Regions from separate parts of the Homo sapiens genome. Here all the other regions are linked to region 4. The links are contacts of gene promoters, found by promoter capture Hi-C in blood cells and fetal thymus (Javierre and others, 2016). All regions are on one chromosome and are shown on one strand. The core of a region is centred on a gene start or on the middle of the fragment in contact, and the rest is flanking DNA. Distances in the headings are between cores, read along the strand shown. Region 1 overlaps ARHGAP5 (Rho GTPase activating protein 5). Region 2 has its middle 16 kb from the start of RNU6-7. Region 3 overlaps LOC105370440 (a long non-coding RNA gene). Region 4 holds the start of HEATR5A (HEAT repeat containing 5A). Region 5 overlaps ARHGAP5 (Rho GTPase activating protein 5).

The links. Contacts are between HindIII fragments. The CHiCAGO score rates a contact against its expected background, and 5 or more counts as called.
Region 1: a contact is called between a fragment that was not itself captured here and the fragment with the promoter of HEATR5A in region 4, in 1 of 17 cell types (activated CD4 T cells). The highest score is 5.6, in activated CD4 T cells.
Region 2: a contact is called between a fragment that was not itself captured here and the fragment with the promoter of HEATR5A in region 4, in 2 of 17 cell types (naive B cells and total B cells). The highest score is 6.2, in naive B cells.
Region 3: a fragment that was not itself captured here is called in contact with the fragment with the promoter of HEATR5A in region 4 in 1 of 17 cell types (total B cells); the score reaches 5.4 in total B cells.
Region 5: a fragment that was not itself captured here is called in contact with the fragment with the promoter of HEATR5A in region 4 in 1 of 17 cell types (total B cells); the score reaches 5.7 in total B cells.

The regions. Positions count from the first base shown.
Region 1 is chr14:32,103,121-32,106,525 of GRCh38, reverse strand. All of the region lies in intron 2 of ARHGAP5 (Rho GTPase activating protein 5), which reads right to left. Among named protein-coding and RNA genes, the nearest start is that of ARHGAP5, 28 kb to the right of the region's middle. The HindIII fragment of the contact is 5,331 bases long and covers 1-3,405 here.
Region 2 is chr14:32,184,416-32,188,190 of GRCh38, reverse strand. No RefSeq gene overlaps it. Among named protein-coding and RNA genes, the nearest start is that of RNU6-7, 16 kb to the left of the region's middle. The HindIII fragment of the contact is 840 bases long and covers 1,757-2,596 here.
Region 3 is chr14:32,047,232-32,050,882 of GRCh38, reverse strand. LOC105370440 (a long non-coding RNA gene) reads right to left here. Exons shown (of 4, transcript XR_943727.2): 2 at 3,002-3,079; 3 at 601-1,006. Among named protein-coding and RNA genes, the nearest start is that of ARHGAP5-AS1, 28 kb to the left of the region's middle. The HindIII fragment of the contact is 1,371 bases long and covers 723-2,093 here.
Region 4 is chr14:31,418,019-31,421,824 of GRCh38, reverse strand. It overlaps HEATR5A (HEAT repeat containing 5A), which reads left to right and starts at 1,275. Exons shown (of 36, transcript NM_015473.4): 1 at 1,275-1,353. It overlaps HEATR5A-DT (HEATR5A divergent transcript), which reads right to left and starts at 1,067. Exons shown (of 4, transcript NR_110045.1): 1 at 848-1,067. RefSeq lists enhancers at 955-1,104, 1,535-1,584 and a silencer at 1,695-1,814. The HindIII fragment of the contact is 6,619 bases long and covers 1-1,962 here.
Region 5 is chr14:32,083,536-32,087,397 of GRCh38, reverse strand. The region is part of intron 1 of ARHGAP5 (Rho GTPase activating protein 5); the gene reads right to left. Among named protein-coding and RNA genes, the nearest start is that of ARHGAP5, 8.2 kb to the right of the region's middle. The HindIII fragment of the contact is 4,255 bases long and covers 1-3,738 here.

The DNA.
Region 1 (3,405 bases), core at 619-3,118, 680 kb before region 4:
ACACGGAAACCTAATTTAAAAAGTTGCTGCACCACAAATATTGGTGAGGATGTGGAGAAACTGGATCCATCATACATTGCCAGTAGGGATTTAAAATAGTATACCCAGGCCGAGTGCAGCGGCTCATGCCTGTAATCCCAGCACTTTGGGAGGCTGAGGCGGGTGGATCACGAGGTCAGGAGTTCAAGACCAGCCTGGCCAAGATGGTGAAAGCCCGTCTCTACTAAAAATACAAAAATTAGCCAGGTGTGGTGGTGGGCATCTGTAATCCCAGATACTCAGGAGGCTGAGGCAGAGAATTACTTGAACCTGGGAGGCAGAGGTTGCAGTGAGCTGAGATCGCGCCACTGCACTGTAGCCTGGGCAACAAAGTGAGACTCCATCTCAATAAATAAATAAATAAAATAGTATACCCATTCTGGAAAACAGTTTGGCAGTTTCTTATCCTGTATTCGAATGTTCATGACAACTTTATTCAAGATGGACAAAAACTGGAACGACCTGATGTCCTTCAACAGGTTAAAACACTGATGTATCCATATTATGGAATATTATTCAGCAATAAAAAGAACAAACTGTTGATGCACGCAACAACTTGGCTGAATCTCAAGGGCATTATGGTAAATGAAAGTCAATCCCAGAAAGTTATATGCCCTGTGATTCCATTTATATAACATCCTTGAAATGACAAAATTATAGAAATGAAAAACAGAGTAGTGGCTATCAGTGGTTAGGGATGGGTGAGGAGAAGGAAAAGCATGTAGTTATAAAAAGACAAAACAAGTTAATTTGCTAGTGGATGGAACTGTTTTACATCTTGACTATGGGAGGGACACACAAACCTATACACATGAAAAACTGCAAAGAACAAAATATACACATGTACAAATTAGTACAAGTAAAACTGGGGAAATCTGAATAAGATCTGTAGATCATATTAATGTCAACACCCTGGCTGTGATATTGTACTATAGTTTTGCAGGATATTACCATTGTGGGAAAATGGGCAAAGAGCACATGGGGTCTCTCTTTTTTTTAAAAAAAAAAACAATAGCATATGAATCAACAATTAGCTCAAAATAGAATCTTTATTTCTTTAAAAAAGGTATTTGTGATAATGCAGGTAAGAAATAATGACAACCTCAACTAGTATGAAAATGGAACGGAAGCAACACATTTTATAGCAGAATAATGAATGATAAACAGTCGAGTATGATAAATGACAATAGCATGTAGCTCTGGCCCACAGTTAACATAATCCTGAAAATATATTCTTACCCAATCACGGTGAGGCTGGGGAAGAAAACGCTATGACCTATATGGAAAACCCTACCTTTCTTATTGAACAGATACAAACATGCCTTGTATGACTGACTTCTAGAACTGCATAGACATTTTTTTCAAGACATAGTCTCCTACACCAGGGTTTCTCAACTTCAAGATTATTGGCACTTTGGGCTGTATAATCCTTTGTTGTGGAAGATGGCCTGTGAATTCTGCAATTCAGTTTAGCAATTCAATGTTTAGCAGTAACCCTGGCTTCTACCCACTAGATGCCAGCAGCAACCTCCTACTTCCAGTTGTGACACCCAAAAATGTCTCTAGACATTGCCATATGCTTCCTGGAGGGCCAAACTGACCCTGGTTGATAGCCACTGTGCTAGACTAGTAAAAACAAAGACCAATAACTCAAGTTTGGGAAATAGCTACAGATATATTTCTGAAAAGCCTGAGAATTTTAACTTTAAAAAAGGTCCATACACGACTCAAGACTGAGAAACAATACTGCAGGTTATACAAAGTTGAATGATAACCATAACTGCCCTCAGAAAGGTTATAACATAGAAAAACAAAATTAAACTACAATATAAAGTGATCAGGCAGTGAGAAGCAGCATTACATTATAGTTTAACACACTGGTGTAAGAAAGAAGCCTTCAGGGGACCCAGCACTCTAAAGGTTTATTTAATCCCTTTTTTAAGCCTATAAAAGCCGTAAGTGCTGGCTGAAAGTCCAAACACACTTCAGAAAACTTACATTGTGAAGACTCTCTCACACCCTTTATGCTAACACTAGGTGAAAAGAGGAAATAAAAAACAACAGAGTAAATAAATGTGGTCTAGGTTTTTGTACATACTTATCAGGCAAACTAATTTTAACCTTGACTCAGGAACCTTTATTCTCTAAGATAACATCTTCCTAAAAAGCATTTCAACATATATTATATATGTGGCAGATATTTTATTAATGCCATTAACAACTTAACAAAAAATAAACCTGGAGTCACTTGGAGAAAGTTCTAGCAAAGCAACTAACTATTCAAGTGAATGGGTGGATTTCTACCCAGCTTCCCCAAATTTCAGTGTCTTCCTCCTCCCTCTCATCTTATACAAGGAGTTTCTTAAACTGGGATCCACAGGCCTTTAGAAAGTATTTGAAACCGTTAAAACTCCAGTAAAATTTTGTGCATGTGCATTTTTCTAGGGAAAATACCCAAACCTTGACTCAGATTTTCAAAGGCTAAGAACAATTTCCAAAAAGTTCAAAACAATTGTTATACAATGTATGCAAGTTGTACCCTTTATTTTGACTACGATACAATCATAAGATCTCTTTTGTCATATCCTTATATTTTGTTGTAAGGATTCTAAACATCAAAAATTACTACTATTTTTAAAAAGCAACCCTCCTATGCTCTGGGGTTTCTCTTCTTTAAAAGTCACAGATTAAGCCCTATTTACTTGAGTACTCCATCCACACTTTAGCTGAGATGACAGGAAAACATTACAGAGCAAGAAATCATAACACTGCATCTACTGTAAAAAACCTCTCCTAGGATTGACACAATTTGTAGTATACAAAATTTTGGTGTACATAAATTGGCAAACCTATAAATTTACCTATAGTCTTGCAATAGTAACAACTGTCCATTAACATAAGAACACAATTATCTATGTTACAGAAGTGCCTCCTTGACACATACTTAACATTTACTATTAATCTGCTGCAGAAATGAGTAACTTCAATAATCTGTACTATGCTTTTACAAAATATTCAGTACGCTGCTATAAACACTAAGAAAAAGTTTGTATAGAAAGCCAAATTTAAATTAGCGAAAATGTATGCCACTGACATAATCTTTCCAATTAAGTCTTAACAAAATATATAAATCAGAAATATACTTTAAAAATTAACCATCTAATTACATTTCAATCTGAATTTGAAAAGCAATAAATCATGATCAAATGGACAACACAGAATTCAAAGAAATGGCAAATAGTAAAATACTGCCAGAAATACTTGCACTACATATCCACACTTATGTTATCATAAATTGGTGTAGCCAGCACCAAAAATGCTGAAGAAACAAATTTTAACTTTATGAGAAATTATAGAAACATCACA
Region 2 (3,775 bases), core at 927-3,426, 770 kb before region 4:
TGAGTAGTTGTGCTAGAGATCATGTAGTCCATAAAGCCTAAAATACTTGCCACCCAGCCTTTTACAGAAGAAGTTTACTGACCCCTATTATAGAGGTCTCTTAATGTATATATGTGAGAGCTTCTCTAGGATACATTTCCAGAAGCTGAATTATTGGGTCTTCAGGTACTAGAATCTTCAACCTTACCTGATGCAGTCTAATTGGTTTCCAGATAATTATTCCAGTTCACACGACCACAAGCAATATATGAGAATTCCTGTTGATTTACTTGGTAATCCTTAATGTTATCATATTCTAAAGTTTGTGCCAGTCTGATTGGTATGAAACAGTATTCCATTATGATTTTTATTTGCATTTCCATGATTACTCAGGAGAACAACCATTTTTTCCACAGATTTACTGTCAGTTGCCTTTTCATAAACTTTTGTAATTTTCCTTTTTGGTTATCATTTTCTTATTGATTTTCAAGAATTATTTATGTATTCTGTAATACTAATTCTTTCTAGGTTATGTTGGTTACTAACATCTTCTCCCTGTGTTTTTGAGTCTCATCTTTTAACCTTGTTTGTGGTATCTTGTGTACAAATATATATTTGAATATAGTCAAATTTGTTAGTTTTCTTTATGGATTGTATAGTATTTTTTTCTTTTTCTTCTTCTTTTTTTTTTCTTTTTCTTTTTTGAGATGGAGTCTCACTCTATCACCCAGGCTGGAGGGCAGTGGTGTGATCTCGGCTCACTGCAACCTCCACTTCTCGGATTCAAGTGATTCTCCCACTTCAGCCTTCCAAGTGGCTGAGATTACGGGCATGCTCCACCACACCCAGCCAATTTTTGTATTTTTAGTAGAGACGAGGTTTCACCATATAGGCCAGGCTGGTCTCGAACTCCTGAGCTCAAGTAATACACTCGCCTTGGCCTCCAAAAGTGCTGGGATTATAGGGGTGAGCCACCGCATCCAGCCAATATTTTTTCTTATCTAAACATTATTCCTGGCTGGGCACTTTGGCTCACACCTGTAATCCAGCACTATAGGAGGTCAAGGAAGGTTGATTGCTTGAGGTCAGGAAACCAGCCTGGCCATCACGGTGAAACCCTGTCTCTAGTAATGATACAAAAAATTAGCCAGGCCTGGTGCACATGCCTGTAGTCAGCTACTCAGGAGGTTGAACCTGCGGAGCTTGCAGTGAACAGAGATCGCACTGCTGCACTCCAGCCTGGGCAACAGAACGAGACTCCCTCAAAAAAAAAAAAAAAAAAAAAAAAAAAAAAAAGGCCAGGCACGGTGATTCATGCCTGTAATCCCAGCACTTTGGGATGCAGAGGCAGGAGGATCACCTGAGGTCAGGAGTTTTAGACCAGCCTGGCCAACATGGTGAAACCTCACCTCTATAAAATTAAAAGAAAAATTGTATTGTTGCATTCTAATGCCATAAAGATAATCCTCTATGTTTTCTTCTAAAACATTTGTGAAGTGATAACAAGCACTTATCTAACTACCTAGGTCAAGATGAATAGAGGACAGTTACTAACTTCAACTCCTACCTGTGCCACCAGAGCATGGAGTAATTCTAGCCAGCAAAGGAGACCATATTGGAAGAGTGAGAAAACAAGATAATAACTAAAAAAATATATATTGATGACCTTGACTGGGGGAGTGGGTGGAAGTACAAGCTGCAGGTGCAAATCATAGAGGTGAGATGTTAAGTTAATGGGAGACAGGAAGTGAAAATGAAATCATTCTTTCAATAAGCTTGGCCATAAAGGAAATGAAAGCTGCAGAAGCAGATATAAAGTAAAAGAGCCTTTTTTTGTTTTTTTCATTACAGAAACTTGGACATGTTTATATGTTGATGGCAAAGAGTAGAGCACAGAGTGAAGATTCAGGGATGAGGGGAGATCATTGATGGAGGCAGGTTCCTGAGGAGGCCAAGGAGGTGGGATGGAGACTGTATGGCAGGGGAAATCTACTCTTTCTCTTGCTGTAGTTACACCTCCCTGGGCTACCTCTCCCTCTTTCCTTTGCCTGTCAAAAAGCTATACATTATTTATTAAGACTATCTGGTATTGGCACAAAAGATGGACAAATAGATTAATAGAACCAAAAGGGCACCTGATTTATGACAAGGTAGCACTGAAGGGCAATGGGGAAAGGGCAATCGCTTCAGTAAACAATATTGGCAGCCAGACGTGGTGGCTCATGCCTGTAATCCCAGCACTATGGGAGGCCAAGTTGGACGGATCGCCTGAGGTCAGGAGTTCAAGACCAGCCCGGCCAACATGGTGAAACCCCGTTTCTACTAAAAATACAAAAACCACTGTAATCCTAGCTACTCAGGAGGCTGAGGCAGGAGAATCACTTGAACCCGGGAGGCAGAGGTTGCAGTGAGCCAAGATTGGGCCACTGCACTGCAGCCTGCATGACAGAGCAAGACTCCATCTCCAAACAAACAAACAAACAAACAAACAAACAATAAACAATATTGACTCAACTGTATCTGTTTGCAGAAATCTTAATTTCTACCTCATGCCATACCTGAAAATTATTTCCAGATAGAATGTGTATCTAAATATAAAAGGTAAGATAATAAAGCTTCTAGAGAATAATAACATAAGAAAGTATGTTACTGACTTTGAAGTAGAGAAGGTTTTCTTAGACTGGAAGCAAAAAGTATTAACTATTGATAAGGAAAAGATTAGCTACGCTAAAATTGGGGATTTATGTTCATCCCAAAAACATCACCATTAAGAAAATGAAAAGGTAAACTCATGAGTAGAAGATATTTGCAATACATATAACCAACAAAGGGCTCATATATAAAGAATTCCAGCAAATCAATAAGAAAAAGACAACTGAAAAATGGGCAAAACACCTGAACAGGCACTTTACAGAAGAAGATATCCAAATGGCCAATACACATATGAAAAAGTCTCATTGTTATTGGTCATCAGTGAAATGCATATTAAAACTATCTTAAAAGGCTGGCACCCAGGGTTGGCAGAGATGTGGAGTATTCTAATTTTCATACAATTCCAGTGAGAGTATAAATTGATGCAACCATTTTGAAAACTATTTGTCAGTATCTGTTAAAGCTGAACGTACACATACTCTGTGATCCAGCAACCCACGTGTGTATCTACACATGATTATGCATAGAAGCATTGTTCCTAAAAACCCAAATATCTTGTCTTCAACAAGAGAATAAATTAATTAAGAAATATGTATTCAGAGCCACAACAACATAGATGAATCACACAAACATAACGTTGAGTGAAAGAAGCCAAACACAAAAGAGTCTACTCTGCCTCATTTTTATGAAGTTCCAAAACTAGTCTACTGTGCAAAACTAGGCAAAACTAGTCTACTGTGTTGGAAAACAGAATAGCCATTATCTTTTAATAAGGAGTGTAGAAAATGACTAGGCATATGGTGGGCTTCTGGAATTGTGATATTCAATCTATTTAACTGTGTGGTAGTTATACTGGTGTGTTTATTCTTCAATAATTCATCAAGCTATATACTTCTAATTTGTGCACTTTTCTACATATGTGTTAAACTTTGATTAAAATGTTCATTGTGAAAAATTAAAGCTATTATTCTGTCATAAACAGTGTCATCCACATAAACATTTTGTACTTTTCTACTTACCTTACGTACATATCTAGTCATTTCTCTATTAATCTTGTTCTTCTAATTGGAAGTATGAGATTAGAGGCTGACTGCTACTTGTCTTTTGGTTTTCTGAGGGTCTTTGCACACAGCAGGTGTTTAAT
Region 3 (3,651 bases), core at 159-2,658, 630 kb before region 4:
TATTACTCACCATCATTATCATTATCATTACTTTTCAAATAGACTAGCATTAATACTACCGGGGTAGACCCTAACACCTTGTTTGGAGGGTGTAGCCATAGCAGGAATCTCATATGCCTTTGCCCAAAGAAGTATCTTCTTTTATCTGAAAAGGGCATTTTCTTCAGATAATCAGATTGGCTCAATCAAGCCAATAATCATTCCATGATTTGATTTCCCTCTTTCAGTTTGTCCCCTCTTCTTCCTTTCTTTCAATGAGTATCTTTTAACCCTGATGTTTACTTCATCTATTTATTCAGTAAATATTTACTGGGTACCTACTCCAGGACAGACCCAGTTCCAAATGCAGTGAATAAAGCAGCCAAAAACACCTGCCCTCAGGAAGCTGCTATTCTATTGCATTGGTCATGCCACACATCAGATTGTCAGTCAACCTGAGGATGCGTGTCAGGCATTCTTCCAGGACCTAGGATTGGCAACAGGTGAAGAGTGGGGAGGAGAAAAGACCAGGCCTCTAGACAGCCCCCAGTCCCTACCCGTACCCTCCTGCCACACCAGGGTGCCAGAGGGGAAAAAAAATTCTCCTCTTGTCACGCTCACCTTTGTGTGATCCCCTGGGTTGTTACTGCCGCTGGAGTCTCCCAACTCTTGCAGTTGCGGATGTGGCTCTCTTACTTTCCAACAAGCAGATGCCTAATACCAAGCACCTAGGATACAAAGCTTTACCTGAGGAAAAATCTGAAGATTTGAAGGAACTGAGGGCATTTTACGTGAAAATCAGGACTTCTGGCTGCAGGCCCTGTGTAGGCACCTTCTCATTAGGTTAGAGCCCATGCTGCAGTCTAGGAATCCATCCACACACAACCCACCTCTGCTGAGCGAGAAGCCCACGTTGGCAATGCCTGAAGGGCACTATCAGGGAGACTGAATTTGACCTACTTCATACTCAGATTCCATCTCTGTAGGATCTTAATGAGCTTTATTCAACCAAATCTTCTCAGTTCCCCTAAAAATTGAGGAAGGAAACAAGATTCAAAATGATTCATTTAGTATATCCTTTTCTTATGCAGTGTTGATTAAAATCACTGTTTTTAAGCAAGGATATTTCATTATAAGAGCCGGAATGGAAACTGTCTAAAAAATAGGTAAATTAAACTCTTAGAAAACACAAAAATGTTATTTTGGCCAGTGATTCAGCCACATCACTTCAAATCAAATCTTTTACTAAGAGTAATAACATATGAAGAAAATGGATGTTTTGAGTTGCATTTCTTATTTTCTCTTTCCTCCTTCTGGTGGAGGTGACTAATGAACAATGAAATGGCCAAGAGGTAGGCAGGAAGCCACAGAGGTGAGGAGGAGGAGCGAAAGATAGGAATAATCCACAAATAGTTGCTAGGTCTGAAACAATGAGGAATTCAGTGTATTTCCACTTTACAAGGTAAGGGAAGAGGAAAATAATAGTTATGTTAGCTTAGGTAATGACAGTAATTAGTAGTTGCATGCTTTTAATAGGCCAGGCCCAGTGCCTGCACAGTATTTTATTTCTATGATCTCTCAGCAGTTCTGCAAGGGTGGCATTATAGTTATTTCGAAGAAGAAAAATTGAAGACTTAGAGTGTTCAGTAAGTAAGTTGCCCAGGCCCACATAGCAAGGTTAGCCTGGAATGGAACCCAGATTCAATGCCCTTCACTTTCACCATAGGTCTCCTCTGTACCAGTCCTTAGAATCTAGTGCAAAACAGTACAAATTCCCCAAATGGGAAAATGTTAACACCTCAGTTTAAAACATATTAAATAACATTCTAGAGGAATATATAGGATATCATTGGCCTATGGAATGTAAACCTTAGTGTACATAAAAGTTATCTAGAGAACTTGTTTAAATGGCATATTCCTGGGTCCCACCCATGGAGATTGAGATTCAATCTGTCTGGGAACCTAGGAAGAGTCTAGGAATCTACATTTTCAGAAAGCATCCATGTGATTAACAAAGGCGATCCTCAGATCATACTTTGACCTTACCCCAAATTGTGAATTCTCAATTTACCATTCCTTTGCCTCAACCACTTCATTCTAATGTATATGAAGCTTTGTCAATTTGATAGTCTAGTGTAGCTGAAAAAAATACAACACTGGCGTAAAGAAGCCTAGGGTTCTAGGTAAAACTCTGTTGCTAACAAGTTGGGAAAACTCAAATAATTTATTTGAATTTGGTGGGCTTTTTTTCCTCACATGTAAAATTAAGCATTTCATACACCTATGATTTTATTTGGCTGAAGTAAGCCAAATTTTTAAATAACAATCTATAGAGCCTAAACATCTCAATGGTGACATGTAAGAAGCAAAGTCTACTTTATTTATAAATTTGTAATATCAACAAAGTGCTTCCAAATATCATGCATTTGGGAGAAGGAAATGGGAATCCAAAGATGGAAGCAGATATAACTTAAATTATATCATTAAGGCAATTCCGTTGTTTGCTTAGCAATGGATTTCCTCAATCGGGTAGTTGCACCTGTAACTAAGAATGTTTCAAGTATATGGTATTTCCAATCTTAAAAATCAAGTTTTTGTTCATCTTAAGAAACAAAAAACAAAATCCTGCATGAAATAAAAAAAATTTAAAAAGGCAAAAAAAATCAAGTTTTTGCATAATAATTCGTTCTAATTTTCAATAGTATCTTGAAGTTTAAAGCTATTTTGAGCTTGTTTTTAAAAAACTAAAGATACCCCTTGATTTATATTAATATACCACTGGATGTTAAAAGCACAGGTTAAGAATTGCTGATTTATATCTTAGAGAAAAATGCTCACAGTATGGCATATTGGGTGGTTAGTGTTCATGGAGACAAACTTAATGAAATGAGTCACACAAATGAAGTCACAAGTTATAAATGAGAAGGAAGGCCACTGATGCAAAAAATACATAGTTCTAAATCAATGAGGAAAACCACAAAGTGAACTTGTTGTACCGTCAGAAAATTGTATATATATTTACCTCCCTTGAAATATTCCTCTTTGCTCTGTGACTTATTAATACCTTCCCAGAAGCCACTAATTTGCTTCTTCAAACACACTAATTTGGCGGCAGAATTTGGTTGCAGAAAGAGACAATAAAAAAATGTATTATTACATAGGAATTCTGAATCACTAGAAACAAAAGAAAAAATTCACTCAATTGTGAACTAAGTTAAGATGCACTACTTACAGCAATGTTGAGAAAAACATTAATTTCACATTTAGATAGTGTATAATATTTCCTCCAACATTTTGCAGTATAATTTAACAGCTCTTATTTAAAAAGGAACTTCTCAACTCAATCAATGCCAGTTTTATCTCCAAAGCTTTCAATTATACCACATTCCCAAAAGCAATGTATTAAGTAAACTCAATGCATTCATAATCTTACATAGCCTGTATAGCATAGTAGAGTCATTTAGGGAAGTGTACTGAGATTATTTTGCATGTATCACAGGGATAAATATACTTTTTCTATGTATTTTCTAGCTATTTCTTTAGCAAGATCTTGGAGAGTTCATAAATTGACTTTGACTTCTTCAGTTTATGATTTTGCAGCGTCCAAGAAAGATAAAATGTTTCTGCTGCAGCTAAGGAGGATAATATTGCTACAGTCTATTTGCTTGTAAG
Region 4 (3,806 bases), core at 26-2,525:
AAAAGAGAGAGAGAAAAGAGAGAAAGAAACGGATTATAAGTCATTTAACAAAATAGAAACCTCTGGATCCATACTAATTAATATAAATACATTAACTGAAGATTTGATGAGAAACAAGATATTTACAAATATCTTGAAAGGAGAGTTTCAGAGTCTCCCTCACAAAATACTTATTAATTTACAAAGGGGGGAAAAAAGTAACCACACTGGACAAGCCTAACAGACATCACCTTATTAAAGTAAACATCTGTAATGAGAGAAGTTAAAATCGTGCCACCTGATAGGGTGCCATGAGAAGAAAGCAGCAACACTTCTAGAGTCCTGTCATACCTAGCTAAATGTAATCATGAGTAAATATCAGACAGACCCAAAATGAAGGCCATTCTACAAAAATAACTGGCCAGGAATCTTTAACAGCGTCAAGAATATGAAAGGCAAGGCAAGACTGAGAGTTCCAGTTTGAAGAGTAGGAAAGATACATGATAAGTAAATACAATGCCTGATTCTGAACGGAATCTTTTACCATAAACAATATTATTGGGACAATTGGTAAAACGCCGAGTTATGTAAATGTTTTGATTTTGATGGTTATATTGTGATTATGTAGAAGGTGCTTAGGGACAATGTGGCATGGTGTCAGCAATTTAAATCTCAATTCAGGGAAAAAAAGTTCTTTGTACTATACTTGCAACCTTTTTGTAAGCTGGAGATAGATTCAAAATGAAACTTGAAAAATGACATTTAAAACGCTGAGTGTAGTGGGAAAACGCACATGACTCAAGGTAAGAGGCTATTAGTCTCAGTTCTGCCATTGACTTAGTATGTGACCTTGAGCAAGTCACTTTACCTCAGTCCTCACAGTCAAGGCTCTCTAGGGTCCCTTCCACGTCTAACATCTACCCCCACAGCACTGGCCCCGCCTGAATTTCTCCAGGCCCTTTAGGTGTCCCAGAGCTGCACCCAAAGACTCTGGCTTACGATAAAAACAGACAAAAATAGTTGTGGCCGGAATCTCCGGACTGAAAAACCGCTGTCCTAATCCTAACTTGGGCCGCAGTCTCCATCGCTCTTTCGACGGTGAAGCAGTCACGCCTGCCAGAGTGGGCGCTCGATGGCTCGGCGGCCAGCTGGCGGGGCCTTGGACCAGCGGCCCGGCGCAGGGCGCGCTCCCAATCGCTAGCTCCCGCGGTGCTCGCCGCTGAGAGCTTTCCGGCCACGCCCCACGCGCGCCCCGCCCACCTCAATGCCTCGCTGTCGCCGCCGCCGGCAATTCCAGACTCTGCTAGGGTTAGCAGAGCAGCCGGTAACGTTGCTGGACCGGGACGCACGCTCAGCTGAGGAGGACCCCCAAAGGCAGGCAGTCGGGGATCCAGGGAGCGGGGACACCTCCGGGCGCGAGGGGGCTGTGTCTGGGCTGCCTGTTGGCTGGGAAGGAGAACGCACCAGGGCCGCTGTATGAGTTGAGCGCTCGGGGATCCCGAGGGTGGTCGCGGCAGCAATGTGATCGCGAAAGAAGCCGGTGGGAGAACCGGTCGAGGGGCTAGGTGTCTTGACCCTAAGGGCTGGAGTCCGCCGAGAAGGGGCTGACTGGGGCACAGGGTCGGCTGATAAACAGCGTGGTCCGTTCTTCCTCCTGGACTACGGGAAAGTCTGGCTTCACCTGTGCACAACAGGTAGGCGTGGACTCTGCCCGCCAGCGGGAGCCGGGGTTGCCGGGCGTGTGGGGAAGGTCAGCAAGTCGGAGCCCGCCTCGCCAACTCGCCGCTCCCGGGACCCGCCCTGCGGCGTCCGCTGCGCCAGTGGTCAGCCAGGAGCCGGGCCCCGGCCCGGCCTTCGGGCGAGCTTCCTCAGAGGCCCGTTCGTTTTCTGCAGGAACCCTCAAAGAGAGTTCCCAGAAGGGAGCAGTGGAGAGTGTGGATATTTGCTTTCTAACTGTTGCAGTTCTCTCCAGGAAAGAAAGCTTTTCCTTTGGTGGCATTTGCTTAGTGTGAGGAAACATTTTCTTTCACCCTACTCTCGGCCAACGCGGCGTTATTTCAAGTGATTATAAAGTCTTTAGAAACTTTATAAAGCGTTTTATAGTGTTTATTTATCACAGTAATGGATACCTCTGGCAAGTTGGGATAATTTTCTTGACTGTCAAGTCAGATAATAATAAAATGGCTTGAGCTCCTACATTAAAGGTCATAGTTATCCATTGTTTTTATGTGCATTCATTTATTGAACAAATATGCAGCACTTTTTTGGGGCTAGGCGCCCTTAAGGAATTTACAGCCTGAAAGATATTAGAAGTTTAAGGAGGAAAAAAAGGGGCCCACAAGTACACTTAAGAACTTCCAGAGAAAATACTCCCAGTGAAATTACTTAAGCTGTAGGGAAAGCAGAAGTGTGGTTAGAATTGAGCATTAGTTGGATGGGGAGAGGAGAATTTTGTTTAATTTTCCAAACATTTTAGAAAGTATGTCTTTGAGAAAGTAATTTTAGATAAAGTATCGAAGCCGAGATTTGTGTTACATTTTAATGCCATTGACTTTTTTTTTTTCTTCACTGATAAGCAGGCAGGATTTATAATATAAGAATAGTGACAGTTGGAGAATACTGTAGTATGGATTTGTTGTGCCTTGGAATGCAGTTGTTTTACCTAGATGACTATAGAATAGGAGAATAAGAAAAGACTCCTCACCTGAAAGTCAGGAGACCTGAATTCTAGCTTAAGTTCCCTCCACTATTTATGGATGTTAGATTAGGTCACTTTTTTAGTATTATTCATTATTGTATCTGACTTTAGTCACAGAAAATACATGACTCCAAAGTACCTTTTTAATTCTTAAATTATTAATTAAAATTAACTACATTAAACTAATGAATATATTATCTACAGAAAAAAATTATTTTTTTACTTGTCTTTAACCAATACACTTACCTTTCTTCTTGCTTTGTTTCAAAAAGGTTGAGGTAGTTTATAATAGTCTTTCTTAACTATGAATAACATAAGGGTTAAATTCTGAATTTTTTAAATTCTAAAATTATTCTGAATTAAGCGTTTAATGACATCTGCATTTTTTTAAAAAGCTCTATTGAGTCTTGTGTGGTTCATTAATTATCCCATAGTATAATTGAAGAGTTTGAACAATCCTTTAATGAGACCACAGTCCTCATATAAATAACACTTCTGCTTTTTCAGGAGACATTGAGAAACTGTTATTAAATCTCATTTGAGAAATCAATTAACTGGGGCCAAAAAACTTAGTAAAGACTTGCCTGTGTCACTTAATTAGATCCCTTGTCTAGTTCTAGTGTTAAATTTTTGAATTAAAATAGTGCTCAGCAATCTACAGCCTGTGGGTCAAATCTGCTCTGCTGGCAGTTTTATAAAAGTTTTATTGAACACAACAATGCTCCTTCGTTATGGCTGTGCATGTTTTGTTTTTGAGTAGTTGTGATAGAGACCGTATGGCTCCCAAAGCCTAGAGTATTGTCTGGTCCTTTACAGAAAAAAATTAGTGGACCCCTGAACTAGAGCTCTTAAGTGCTTAATCACTAAATCTTTTGTAGGAGGAAATAGATTAAATTCAGTTTTAATTCTTCTGTTTGTTTGTTTGTTTTTGTTTTTATCGAGACAGGGTCTGGCTCTGTAGCCCAGGCTGGAGTGCAGTGGCGCGATCTTGGCTCACTTGCAAGCTCTACCTCCCCGGTGCAAGTGATTCTCCTGCCTTAGCCTCCCGAGTAGCTGGGAGTACAGGCATGCACCACCACGCCAGGCTAATTTTTGTATTTTTAGTAGAGACGGGATTTCACCATGTTGG
Region 5 (3,862 bases), core at 362-2,861, 670 kb before region 4:
TGTTTGGATGAGTATGGTATTACCACCTCAATGGACAAAAGATCTCATGAAGTTGGCTCTAACAGGTTTTAAGGGAACTTCATTTCAAACACTGAGATAGTTCATATATATATACAAATTATCCATTGGCCCCTTACAACCAGATCAAAACTGTCCTCTATTAGCCAAGCAATTTTTTTTTTCAGTGCTAAGAACAAAAAAAATTTATTGTTTTTTTTCATGCTCCCACTAATAAACTAATGCCCAGTGTCTTCAATGATATGAAGGCTGTTTGAGTTAACTTAAAAATTCCTTTCAGTCTTAATATCTATGTCAATCATGCACATCTATTTTTGATGTAGGCTTACTTTCATGCAACTTGTTCTTATGATATCTAGCACCATGTTTATTTTTACTGATGAAGAAACCAAGACAAAAGTAGCAATAACCTACTAGAAATTATAAGGTTAGAAGGAAAATCTCTTCATTCCCAATCTTTTACTTTTTTAAGCAATAGTGCTGCTTTTAATAGCTTGCAATGCAGTCTCTCATTCTGCCTTTAAGATTGTCTTTAGGATAATCTTATAGAAATTATCTATATCCTTATAGAAATTAAAATTGTGTCAAAACAAAACTATGTTCACAACTAAGTTTTCTAAGGTATTTTACTAGACCATTCAAACACTGCATCCTCCTTTGCAAATCAAGAAAAAAAAAGTTCTACAAGGAATCTAAAAAAATAAAATCTCAATAAATCAGAACTAAAACATGTACCTTTTCACAAAATTGATGCATTCATTAATAAAAGGTATATATTTAAAAATATTTTATGCTTTTAAATTATACCATGTCAGGAAATTCCTAATGGTCCTATCTTTAAAATATATCCTTAACTTTTCAGTTTTTTCTACTTTTACTGCTCTCACCCATCAATATCTCTGGCCCAAGATTACTCCAAAGTCTTCTAAACTAACTCCTCTGCTTCACTTCTGCTCCCTTTTCCCAGTCTATTCATATCAGAGCAGCCAGAGTGCTCCTTTTAAAACATAAATCAGAGCTTCCCATTCTTTTGTTTAAAACTCTCGAGTACTGCTAAAAATAAAAAGCAAGTCCTGTCAATGGCTTACAAGATCTTCTCCAACCCTCTCTCACCTCTCTGGCCTCCCCTAATACTATTCTACCTTTCTCATTCTGCTTCAATCACACTGGAGGAAGACAACATGCTAAGGCATGTTCTTTGCACTTAACTTTTCACAATATCCCCAAAGATCCCCACTGCTAACTCTTTACCTTCCTAACTTACTATACACCTTATTTATGTCATTAACTCTATCCCTCTCCGCATCCCACTCTTAATAAAAGAGTCACAAGGCACAAATCTTTATTTCACCAGTATATCAAAAGCCTACAACAGTGCCTCCCACATAACAGCTACTAATTAAATGCATAAATCCTAATTTAAACTCAAATATTTAGTCAAAAATGAAACCATGAGAATGAAAGCTAACTACAATCTATAATAATGTACTTAGCCAGCATAACAATCTAATTTTATGACATCTTAAAAAAATTTTTTTTCAAAAGTGAAGTTGAGTACAACCCCAAATATAGTTAATTCAAAATTTTTGGCTGTTTAAAGACTTTAGTAAAATCACAAAATTTATGATAAGAAATTATATTTCCAAGACCTAATCACACAGAGGGAACTTTGTAATTACATGCTCTATCTTCTTTAAATCAAATAACTATCCCTTATGTAAACAAATATTCAAAAGAAACAAGAACAAAGCCCAAAGATTATCATATATTCTACAATCTTAGGCAAACTTTTTGCAAGCAGCTGAAGAATAAAAAAACAACTGCACACTAAAAGATGAATAATTTGTTCAGCAGCAATAGAAAACAACAACAAAAAGATGAACAGAGTGTAGTACTGATGCATTACTTTACTGTTTTTTGTTTGTTTTTGAGATAGGTCTCCTAATCTGTCATCTAGGCTGGAATGCAGTGGCATGATCATAGCTCACTGCAGCCTCGAACTCCTGCGCTCAGGTGATCCTCTCATCTCAGCCTCCTGTCTAGCTGGGACTCTAGGCATGCACCACCACACCCAGCTAATATTTAAAAATTATTTTTGTAGAGAGGGGTTCTCCTTATGCTCCCCAGGCTGGTCTCAAACTCCTGGGCTCAAGCAATCCTCTTCCATCAGCCTCCCAAGGTATGGGTATTACAGACGTGAGCCACCTCCCAGCCTGCCTTTTCTTAATGTTGCTATTTCTGGTAAATTTATCAATGCTGTGAAAAGTGAGAAGAAATCAAAAAGTCATTCTAACACACATAAAATAGCTAAGTAATTCAACAATGTAATACCTGTAGGAGAGTAACTCATATCCCATAATCTGTCTTTTTTTTTAAATAGGGTGTCACTGTCACCCATTCTAGAGTACAGTGGCAGGATCATAGCTTACTGCAGCCTCAAACACCTGGGCTCAAATGATCCTCCTTCCTCAGCCTTCTAAGCAGCTGCGACTACAGATGTGCACCACCACACATAGGTGATTTTTAAATTTTTTTGTAGAGAGTCTCACTATGTTGTGGTCTCAAAGTCCTGGACTCGAAATAATACTTCATCTTTGAACCACAGTTTATACCAGAAAGCACACAATTTGTATGTGAAATGAGCCCTAAAAAGTCATTATTCCTATGAATTAGTCTTGAAACAAGAATATAATCAGGCAAATGAAGAGAGAACCAACCTATTAAAAATTTGAACAATTTACGTGGTGACTAAATAACGTAGAAGCATTGGGATTTTGTTTTGGAATCAAATCTCCAGCAACAGTGCCTGATACACAGTGAGGGCTCAGTAAATATTTCATGAATAAATGACTCAATCTCCAGACTAAGAATAATCAGCTTCCAAACCGCTGGGTAATCCTGAAGTCACACTTGTAAACACAATTAACAAAAATTATGTACTGCTTTGGGCCCATTACATCTAGTACAGCAAAATATACTAACATAAAAAGTCCAGTTTTTTTCCCCAGGACTATAATGTGATCATTAACACACAATAGGGGTATATAAACAGTAAGTCTAAAGGTGTGTAGTACTTCAAGGAGGGTCCAAGTAGGCAGTACTCTGGGAGCTCCGCAAACCCACGCAGCAAAGGTAATTCTGCTTTTAACCATTTTTATCTTCTGATATTTCAATTTGTTTGAAAAAAACTTCACTGCTGAAAATATGTGAAAAACCAATGACCAAAACTATTCCCAAACACATTAACTTCTACCCTATTATTTAATGTACACCCTACTCTGATAACATGTTATTTCCCTGAGGCCTTGGTGTGCAAGTCATTCTAAATTCTTTCATTTCTGTATGGGAAACAGAAGGATCAAAGGTCATCCCATGTTCATCAACCTAGGTAAACAACTATAAGTATTTATTTACTGTGCTTAGCTACTATCAGTTTAACTTTGTCAGAGATTTTCAATGTATAAAGGTACATATAGGAAAGTCTACCAAGCCAGTAACTATGGCTTGGTAGTTCACCTTCCTTCCAGTGTCTGAGTCCTTTTCTCTCCACCTTGGAGAACCAAGAAGTGGGGAGAAGGGCATAATTTGATATGCAATATTACAATGCCATATAGTAGAGGAACCGTCATTTTCATCATACAAACAACTTTAGATACGGCTTAACAATTTTTAAAATGAGAGCACCTGATTGAATAAGAATATCAACAAGAGGTGTAAGCTTTAAAGGAAGTATGGATTAAGGGAAAAAAAGACTGAAAAGCACTTTCCACACTACATTAAAAAGCATAATAATAAACAGTACCATAGCCAAGGAGATAAAGGCAATGTGCTATACCATGGTACT